2 separate regions of the Homo sapiens genome follow, and region 1 is linked to region 2. The links are contacts of gene promoters, found by promoter capture Hi-C in human tissues and cell types (Jung and others, 2019). All regions are on one chromosome and are shown on one strand. Each heading gives the region's core, a stretch centred on a gene start or on the middle of the fragment in contact. The rest is flanking DNA. Distances are from core to core; before and after follow the strand shown. Region 1 has its middle 58 kb from the start of GPR12. Region 2 holds the start of SLC46A3 (solute carrier family 46 member 3).

The links. The method cuts DNA at HindIII sites, captures the fragments that hold promoters and counts their contacts. A contact is called where the count stands out against the background at its distance.
Region 1: a contact is called between a fragment that was not itself captured here and the fragment with the promoter of SLC46A3 in region 2, in 1 of the 25 tissues and cell types used here (stomach).

What each region holds. Positions count from the first base shown.
Region 1 is chr13:26,815,925-26,821,314 of GRCh38, reverse strand. No RefSeq gene overlaps it. Among named protein-coding and RNA genes, the nearest start is that of GPR12, 58 kb to the right of the region's middle. The HindIII fragment of the contact is 7,529 bases long and covers 1-5,390 here.
Region 2 is chr13:28,717,223-28,721,908 of GRCh38, reverse strand. It overlaps SLC46A3 (solute carrier family 46 member 3), which reads left to right and starts at 2,939. Exons shown (of 6, transcript NM_181785.4): 1 at 2,939-3,413; 2 at 3,887-4,099. The coding sequence starts at 3,911. It also overlaps the pseudogene CYP51A1P2. The HindIII fragment of the contact is 18,064 bases long and covers 1-4,686 here.

The DNA.
Region 1 (5,390 bases), core at 2,011-4,510, 1.9 Mb after region 2:
TAATAACGGCGGTTGCAAGTCTCCTTTACATACATTGATCTCGGGTCCTCACTAAAACCTTGTGAGGGAGGTACTTTTATTCCCTACTTAGAGAGAAGAAATGGAGGCTCAGGGAAGATGAGCTACTTGCCCTGGTGACAGCTGCCGAGTGGTAGAACTGGGATTGGAGTCGGTCCATGTGACTCCAAAGCCATATTCTTCACACTCAACCCTTTCACTCCTGCCCCACCCTTTCCAGTTTTGTCTGGTGCCAGTTAAACCACACTCTGCCTTCAGACATCAGGCCTCCACAGGGAGCTCCAGCACAGCAGAGGCACTGTGTACAAGGGCTCCAGGTCCTGCTGGGCATCCCCACTCCACAGCACCTCCGTGGATCCTGACCACAGACACCCACTCCTCGGCTCTTGCATTTGCCTCAGCCTAGGTTAACTAGGCTCTGTGGATTTGGGAGACAGAGCTCTCCATATCCTGACTGTTCTGCGGCTGGGGCACCCACCCTGCCCTGGACTCGGTGGTATGTGGCCCTGACCTTCCCTCCAGCTCCCCACCCTCTCCCTGCGCCAGCTACTGGAAGGGAACTCGTCCTGCTGCCCATCAGAGCACCCAAGATAAGACACGCTTGCTTCTCCTTCCTTCACTTCCCAGCTCGGCTCCCCAAATTTCTTACACAAAGCTGCTCTTCCACAGGCCACGTTTTGAATGAAAAGCAAAAGTGGGAACAGGATACACAACATTTACATGATCTGGGCCAATTCCCCTGGGTAGCTGTAGCTTCTTAGTGTCCTAGAGTAACAAACCAGAGGCAGAAACTTTCTCGCTCAAATACATTTTCCATTTTCCATCCTAAACACCCCACGCACCCACTGTCTTAGTCCATTTGGGCTGTGCTGCGGGACAAATATGTCCCCAAACTTTATATGTTGGAAACTTAATCCCTTGTCAGCAACAGCGTTGAGAGGTGGGACTTTTAAGAGGTGATGAGGTCATGCAGGCTTTGCCCTCCTGAGTAAATTAACAACACTGTCTTGTAAGATAGTTTGGATAGTAATGAGTAAGTTTGTTAGGAAAGCAAGTTCGGCTCCCTCTCATGCATTCTCTCTCTCTCTCTCTCTCTCTCTGTCTGTCTCATGCTCTCTTGCCCTTCTGCTTTCCACTATGGGATACCACAGCAAGAAGCCCCTCACCAGGTGCAGCCTCTCAAACTTGGACTCCCCAGCCTCTAGAACCGTAAGAAAGCAATCTCTGTTCTTTACAAATCATCCAGTGTCAGACATTCTGTTATAGCAGCATGAAATGGACTAAGACAGGCTGCTATAACAAGATACTACAGAATGGGTGGTTTGTAAACAATAAAAATGTATTTCTCACAGTTCTGGAGGCTGGAAAGTTCAAGACTAAGGTACCAGTAGATCAAATGTCTCCTGAGGGCTCGATTCCTGGTTTGCAGACGGCACCTTCTTTTTGTGTCCTCATATGGTGAAGAGAACGTCTCTCTTGTGTTTCTTCTTACAGGGTCACTAATTCCATCATAAGAGCTCCATCCTCCTGACCTCATTACCTCCAAAGGCCCCACCTCCTAATGCCATCATAGGGATTAATGCTTCAATATATGAATCTGGGGGGGACACATATATTCAGTCCACAGGACCCACACACCACACATGTGTTTCTAAGCTAAGGGAGCTGTAATCAGCCAGCCGTAAGCAAAGGTATTTGCAGTTTCCTGAAGTAGGCCCCAAACAGAGCAGACCCACAGTCACAGGAATATATGGCTGGATTCCCTACAGGAGAGAACTTTGAGCTTGGGTGGAGAATGAAGCAGGCGACAGATGCAAAATTCTTCAGTTGTGGCTCCTCTTTTTTCTGTTTCAATATTAGGTTTTCTTTTGATTGAACAAGGCCTGGGCAGCATCAGGCCCCTGCAACCTTAACTTCTTAGCACTCTGAGCTAACAAACTAGCCCCTAAATACAGACGAAAGCAGATGGTGTTGCAAGCGCTTAGTACACAGAGGGAGCTTCTGCATGCTGTCTCGCTCCTGCATTGTCACAGCACACTGGGGCTCAGCAGACAGGAGGCTATTTATGGATTCACAAGTTAAGAAGTATGTGTCTGTTGGAACAGGAAGAGTCCCAACTCCCTATTGACACCTTCCAAATGGCAGCAGAGTAACCCTCAAATTGCAAGCTGTCTCTAGGCTCAGCATCCAATTTCCAGGACTCATTGACAGACAGAGGACCCTGTCACATTTATCCCTATTGAAATATTCCTGCCTTAGTGAGGGATGCCTCTCGGTCCAGACGATAGGCCCTTGCTCAGACCTCAGCATATTTGGCAGTGGACAAATTCATCTGCAGACTGAAAGTTGAATTGTGTTGAAATTCAGGACAAATCTCAAAGCAGATTTATAAAGCTTAAATTAGCATTTAAAAGCTACAAACAAAACACTGAGTCCAAATAAACTAAGTTAAAAAAGTCTTAATCTTTTCAACTCAGTGATATATATATGTATATGTATGTGTGTGTGTTTGTGTGTGTGTGTATATATATATATATATATATATATATATATAGAGAGAGAGAGAGAGAGAGAGAGAGAGAGTGAGAGAGGAGAGAGAGAGAGAGAAAGAGAGAATAAAACTCACTCTGTTGCCCAGGCTGGAGTGGTACCATCATGGCTCATTGCAGCCTCCACCTCCCAGGCTCAGGTGATCCTCCCGCCTCAGGCTCTTGAGTAGCTGGGACCACAGATGTGTGCCACTATGCCTGGCTAATTTTTGTATTTTTTGTAGACATGGGTTTTCACCATGTTGCCCAGGCTGGTCTTGAACTCCTGGGCTCAAGCAATCTACCAGCCTCAGCCTCCCAAAGTGCTGGAATTACAGGCATGAGCTACTGCACCCAGCTGACAGTATATTTTAAAAATCATTTCTATGTCTTCTCTATTCAATTGGCAGGTCAACAATGTAGCGTCATTAACATCAACAGGTGGAATCCAGCCCCTGTACTAGTGTAGGACAGGTGCGCTGGATATCCTGTCTTTAAGCCCAGGAGGACTAGATTGGATTGCATCTTTAAGCATCTTTCTTGCTGCAGAAAGGGAAGTGGATAGGGGAAAGTTAGGGGAGGTGGGGAGATAAATTAGGTGGCCCTTAAAGGAGCCCAGATGTCCTAATGTCAGACAATGGTTGTGGGGTTGAGAGAAGTGGTTAGATTCAAAGGTATTTGGGAAGTAGACACATCTGCCCATCACAGCCTCCCTGGTTTCTCAGCCTTGCCCTGATTGTGGTTCTGATATTCCCTGGCACTGAGCTGCTCACCTGGAGGGTTCTTACGCCTCTGGTTCCCTGAGTTTGCCTCCTCTTTGGCAGTTTCTTGCCCTGAGCCCCAGCCCTGCCTCCCCAATCTGCAAAGTCACGACAGGAACAGATGCATTTGTTTGTGTAAGCCCAAGACACTTTTTTTTAAAAGTGCTTGCTATGCTCCAGGATTGGGCTAGGCTCTTGAATGTGTTTTCTTGTCGAATCCTCCCAATAATTGTAGAAAATCTTTATCATTCCCATTTTACCAACTAGAAACAGAAGGCTCAACTTCCTGAATAAGTTCACACAGTTACAGAGTGACGTTAGACAGGAGACAGATGTGTCTAACTTGAAAATCCATGCTTTTCCCAACACATGGCCAGGTATTACATTTAACTCTATTATTAAGAGACTATATTATATCATTGCCTGCCAGTGAATGATTATAAATTTAGGTAACCTTGAGCAGAGAGGTGCTGTCTTGATTCTCAAGCAAGACATAAACATTGCTACAACGTGGCATCAGCAGACCTAATAATGAAGACATTTCTTTAAATGTAAAACAATATGCTGAGAGAGATACCATGAACCGTCTCTATGTCACCCCCCCAGCCCTCACTATTTTTTTTTCCTATTAGCTCATTACTGCTTGTTTTGAAACCAGCGGAAAGCTGACACGGCACCAATTTTGTTCTGCAATTTTAACATGTGGTTGATTGTTTCACTGCATTTTAACTTTCTGTCTAGCTCAAGAAAAATGTGGTTAAAAAAATACTGGAACTGTTTTTGGACACTATAAAAATGTTGCCATTTAATCATAAAACTGTGAGCTCCTTGGGGGCAGCAATGGATGTTTTTATCCACCACTGTGTACCCAGCTTGTGGCACATGGCTCGGGCTCCGGAATGCGTGTCAGATGACACTGAACTGAAGGAATTCTTCACGATCACCCAGTGCAGCAGCCCAGGCCTACAGCAAGACTGCATTTGATCCTTCACTGCCTTTAAAAAATCTCACTGTGCCCTGCAGCCAGCATCATGGAGAAGCAGCCCCAAGACCCCCTGAAAAGTTAGTTCACCTTTCTCCTGAACCGTTTACCCTGACCCATGTCGCTCACCGACCTGCGATTTTCTATTGGGTCTCCCACCTTTTGACCGATCCCCCAATTAGCCTCCCAAAAAATGGACTTTGTTAAGGGTTGAATTGTGCTCCACTGCAACTTCATGTGATGAAGTCCTAACCCCAGTGCCTCAGCACGGGACCTTATTTGAAAGTAGGGTCGTTATATGTAATTAGTCAAGATGATGTCACACTGGAATAGGGTGGTCCCCAATCCAGAATGACTGTGTCCTTGTGAAAAGAACACCAGGTGAAGAACAGACACACAGAGCGCTGCATAAAGATTGGGGTTCTGCTGCCACAAACCAAGGAATTCCTGAAAGCCAGGAGAGAAGCCTGGAACAGGTCCTTCGCCAGTGCCCTCAGAGGTTGCATAACCCTGTGGACACCTTGATCGTGGACTTGGCTGCCAGAACAGTGAGACAGGACATTTCTGTTGTTTCAGCTGCTCCATTTGTGGCATTTTGTTGCGGCAGCCCCAGCCAGCTAGCACAGCTTGCTGACCGGGCCTTGCACTTCGCGCCCATCTTGCTGGCCACCCTCACTTTCGTCCCAGCCCTTCTGCCTCTGGCTACTCTGAGTGATCAGCTCACCTGGCCAGGCTGCCACACCCAGATGGTGTCCTGTCCCAGCAGCACTGACATAGAAATATAACAGAGCTGTTGTCCCACTGACAGAAATATAACAGAGCTGTTGTCCAGTTGCTACTTCTGTGTTTGATACCCGAGTGACCATTCCCCTCAGAGGTAACTTAGGGTGAGCAGGGGGTTGGGGTGTGGCTCCTCAGGGAGCATCTAGGGACCCCCCTTCCTGTGCTCCACCACTTGGAGTCCACTGGCTTTAATAATGGGGATCCATTATTAAACTCAGAGAAAAATGACTGACCCCAGTAGAAGCCTACAGCTTGTGACTGTGTTTATGGATCCACCTGGCATCCACACCTTCCCTTCCTTTTCTGACCCCGATTAGA
Region 2 (4,686 bases), core at 1,690-4,189:
TGAACATCTAAAGCCTTGAATGAGAGAATACTAATTCTTTTGGTATGATGATACTCAGAAATGGAGATGTTGTAGAAAAAAAATATCCTTTGGAATTTTAACTAAAATCACTGAATATAGGAAATTAAGAGATCCGGGACCATATTTGATAAGATTTCCTAAAAATAATGTAATTATTAATGCCAAAAACTGCTCATGTATCTTGATCTAATTACGAAATAATTACATATTTACCTGATAAATATGTATCTAGGTCTTCAAGGTCACATTTATGTGGAAGTCCAAAGTCAAGTCCTTAGGGGATAATTTTGTTTTGGCTCAGTTGTTCCCTGCTTCCTCTCTCTCTCTTTTTTTTTTTTTTTTTTTTTGAGATGGAGTCTCGCTCTGTCGCCCAGGCTGGAGTGCAGTGGCGCGATCTCAGCTCACTGCATCCTCCGCCTCCCGGGTTTAAGCAATTGTCTACATCAGCCTCCTGAGTAGTTGGGATTACAGGCACCTGCCACCACGCCTGGCTAATTTTTGTATTTTTAGTAGAGACAGGGTTTCACTCTTTTGGCTAGGCTGGTCTTGAACTCCTGACCTCGTGATCCACCCGCCTCGGCCTCCCAAAGTGCTGGGATTACAGGCATGAGCCACATGCCTGGCCCTCCCTGCTTCCTCTCTAGAATCCAATTAGGGATGTTTGTTACTACTTATGTTGATTAAAACAGTTAACAAACTTTTTTTCTTTTTAAAATGTGAGATCAGTGAACTCTGGTTTTAATATAATCTGAAACAAGGTCCTTGGGAGTAATATAATTGGTCACATTCTGTAAAGCACATTCTGTTTAGGAATCACTTATCTCAAATTATAACTCAGGGCCTAACTATATGAGATGGCTGAAAAAATACCACATTGTCTGTTTTCACTAGATGATGCCAAAATATTTTGCTTTACGTATATTACAGTTCTTTTTAAAACACTGGAAGACTCATGTTAAACTCTAATTGTGAAGGCAGAAACTCTGCTAATTTTTCACATTAAAATTCTCTTTGAAAAAATACAAAAAAAAAATGACTGTTGTCACCATAGCGATCAGCAGCAGAACTCATTAAGAAGACCTGGCTTTCTTCTTCGTGTGGAAGAGTAGGAATGCAAAGCGTGGAAGTATATTGGACATTAATTATTTTTGCCCCATAAGAAAGGACATTTTCAGCAGGGCACGGTGGCGCATGCCTGTAATCCCAGCACTTTGGGAGGCTGAGGTGGGCAGGTCCCCTGAGGTCAGGAGTTCAAGATCATCCTGGTCAACATGGTGAAACCCTGTCTCTACTAAAAATACAAAAATTAGCCGGCCATGGTGGCGCACACTTGTAACCCCAGCTACTCAGGAGGCTGAGGCAGGATCATTGCTTGAATCCGGGAGGCGGAGGTTGCAGTGAGCCAAGATCCTGCAACTGCACTCCGGCCTGGGTGACAGAGCGAGACTCCACCTCAAAAAAAAAAAAAAAAAAAAAGGACATCTTCTAAGTGCCGTTTAGAATAATATAGTACTTAGTACAAAGTACTGCAACTTAAAATATTATGTCTTCCTTGCAAACTGTATCTTACTCATGTTTGTTTATCTTCTTTCCAATATCCATGCTCCATTGTTTGAAACTCATAACAAGTGCTTCATAAATGCTGATTTGAAGAAGCTGGGAAGTAAGATTAAGTGGCAAGTCCAAGGTTACCAGCTACTAAGTATCAGTTAGGACTCAAACCTAAGACGTTTAACTCTGCATTCAGTGACACAACTGTCATTTAAGGAGTGCTGAGGAAGAGAAAGCAGCTCTGACATCCAGGTGCTGGAACTATCAGCTGGGCCTTGGTGTTGCTAAGAACTTTTCTGGACCATGGTGTTCTGTCGAATGAAAACAATTTCACGGAACACCAAAGTCAGACAAGAGCATTCTGTAACCATGATCAAGACAAAAACAAGACCACGTCATAATTTTGTCTGAACACGGACAAAATTTAGGCACTGTCTAAACCACAAAAATGACAAATATGTGTGACTGTTGCTTCTTTATCATTCATGGCTTTAGCCTCTGTCTAGTCTTGACTCCTAAATAAGACTTATTAAGATACCCAATCATAGAATTACTGCCATTTCCTGACAGCAACCAATCCAGAGTAAGGCCTTGCTTTCTTGAACTCTTCCCAAAATCACATAACGCAAGCCCATAGTAAATTCTAACACCTTCTTACTGAGATGCCCCCACGGTTCCTCATGCATGCATTTCTCCTGGCTTCAAGAAGTAGTAGCTCAATTCTTTTACTACAAGTTGTTCCTGGTGGGTGTGTTGGAGAGCACTGACAACTCCTCCTATGTCCAGGGGCTGTGTTGTGTATACATGCTGAGTGTTTAATTAGACAACCCTGTAAGACTTATCATCCCCACGTGGCAGATAAAGACATGGAGGTTCATGAAAATTTAACGATTTGCCCAAGTCCCCCCTCCCCTCCCCAGGAAAAGCCAGCGACCACATTCCAACCCTCCGCTAACTCTGCATTGAGCACTCTCTTTCCTATGCCCTCCACCTGCGCCCATTCCCCTCTTCTGCGGGCCGACCGGGATCCTGCTGGGGGCTACAGCCCAAACATGTTACTTTTCCAACTGTTGTTTTATGTGTTTCTATGAGAAAGGATATTCGGATTCAGAAATGCTTTGCAACTCCAGAGCTGTTGAGCCTGCGGCGCGGCCCACCACTCAACAGCGGTGCTGAGTGGCTGCTCGGTCGCGCGGGATCCACTCCGGGCCTCCGAGGGTGGGTGCACGATCCACTAGCCACTCTCCAGGGGAGAGTGACGTCCGGGTGGACCAATCGCCGCTGGGGCACCGACCGCTGGGCCCAATCGCAGGAGAGCCGGGTAGAACAGTGACAGCGCCGCGGCAGCCGACCCCGCCTCCTCGGCGGACAGCGATGCTCAGCTGGCTGCGGCCGAGTCATCGCCTAGCGCTGGCAGGGCCGCTGACCGACCGACGGAGGCGCCGATTGGCCGATTGTCCACTGCGCAGAAGGAGCAGCTGCTCCGCGCCCCGCCGCGCCGCGCTGAGGCCGAGGTCCGCAGGGCCGCGGGGAAGCCGAGGGCTGCCGGAGAACCCTGCAGGTGTCACTCGGGACGCGGAAGTGCGCTTGCCGAGGTTTGCTTTACAATACGCTTGAGACTCCCCGACAAGCGTAATTTGGTCGAGTTCGACGGGAAAGTACTCTCCCCACCCCAGCGCCGGCCGCGTAGTCCGAGGTTACTGTCCCCGGCGCGTCCTCTGTTGCCCCAGTCCAGAGGCTGCCCTTGAACCCGGGCGCGCACGAGCGCAGGGCATCCGAGGCGACAGCCCCTGGCACGGCCCGACCTGTACCCAGCCTGGCAGGAAGACTGTAATCGTGGGGTGAGTTAAAAATAAGGCCCTTTCGATTGGGAGCTGCTTTTTAAAACGCCCCCTCCCTGTCCGTTTTTAATACGCAGCAAAATAACAATAACAATTGTGCAACTGTCGCTTCCCAAAAGGAACCTCATTGTTGAACTTACGAAAAATCAGTTGGCAATATACAGTGTGGGAACTGTACTGTGATCATTGGCTAACCAAGATGGGTGACAGTTTATGATTTCAAAGACTCAAAGGCGGCTTGAGTCCTACAATGTCCTACTCATAAAAATGGAAAGCATGGCAGCCTCAGGTTGTTACAGAGTACTCTACTCCAAAGTAAAAGTTATTCTCTGAGAAAGTGCTTACTGCCTTTTCTGTTCTCTAGTTTGCTTGTTTAAACATTTACTCCACAAAATTGCTCAAACTTACCCATCTTTGAATATCTAGCCTCTGGGATGAGACAGATGATCTTTCTCCGTTTTCACTTTTTATAGAATACAGCTACCTACCCAGGCAATATGAAGATTTTATTTGTAGAACCTGCCATTTTCCTTAGTGCATTTGCTATGACTTTGACCGGTCCACTGACAACGCAATATGTTTATCGGAGAATATGGGAAGAAACTGGCAACTACACTTTTTCATCTGATAGCAATATTTCTGAGTGTGAAAAAAACAAAAGCAGCCCAATTTTTGCATTCCAGGAGGTAAGAAATTACAATATCCATAGTATTTAATAAAATGGGAATGTATACCGGGCTTTGAGTTAAAGAGGACCGTGAACTCATCATCCATTGGTCTCTCTAGGGCGGCCATCAAAGTCCTAAATCCCAAACCTAATGGCCTTTACTGGGAACTCACCTCATTTGAAGTTTCCTGACACCTTTCAAATCTGCCTCTTCTTCTTAAAACACCCTCCTGCTCTGTGACACTAGCTCTTCTCCTTTCTCTCGGAAAATTTCACCACAGTGTCATCTCTTCTGTGGCTGTCTCCTTGCTTTGTCCTAAAAAAAAAAAAAAAAAAAAAAAAAGTCTGAAAATTGGGGCAGGGCAGGCTGGAATGAGCTACTTGGTGGACAGGGGTGGCTGAAACATGGTGTTTCTGTCTCTCACTTGCTCTATTCTTCCCCAATCCTTTTACTGTTTCTGCATGTCCCAGCTTTCAGGGACTCTAGAAAGTGGCCCATCACTGAAGATTGTGAGCCAGTGTCTGTCACAGGGTGGGGTGGAGGAGCATTTATTATTTGGTGGTGGTATCAAATCAGCCTTGGCTCTCACGTGTTGAGGAGCAGCT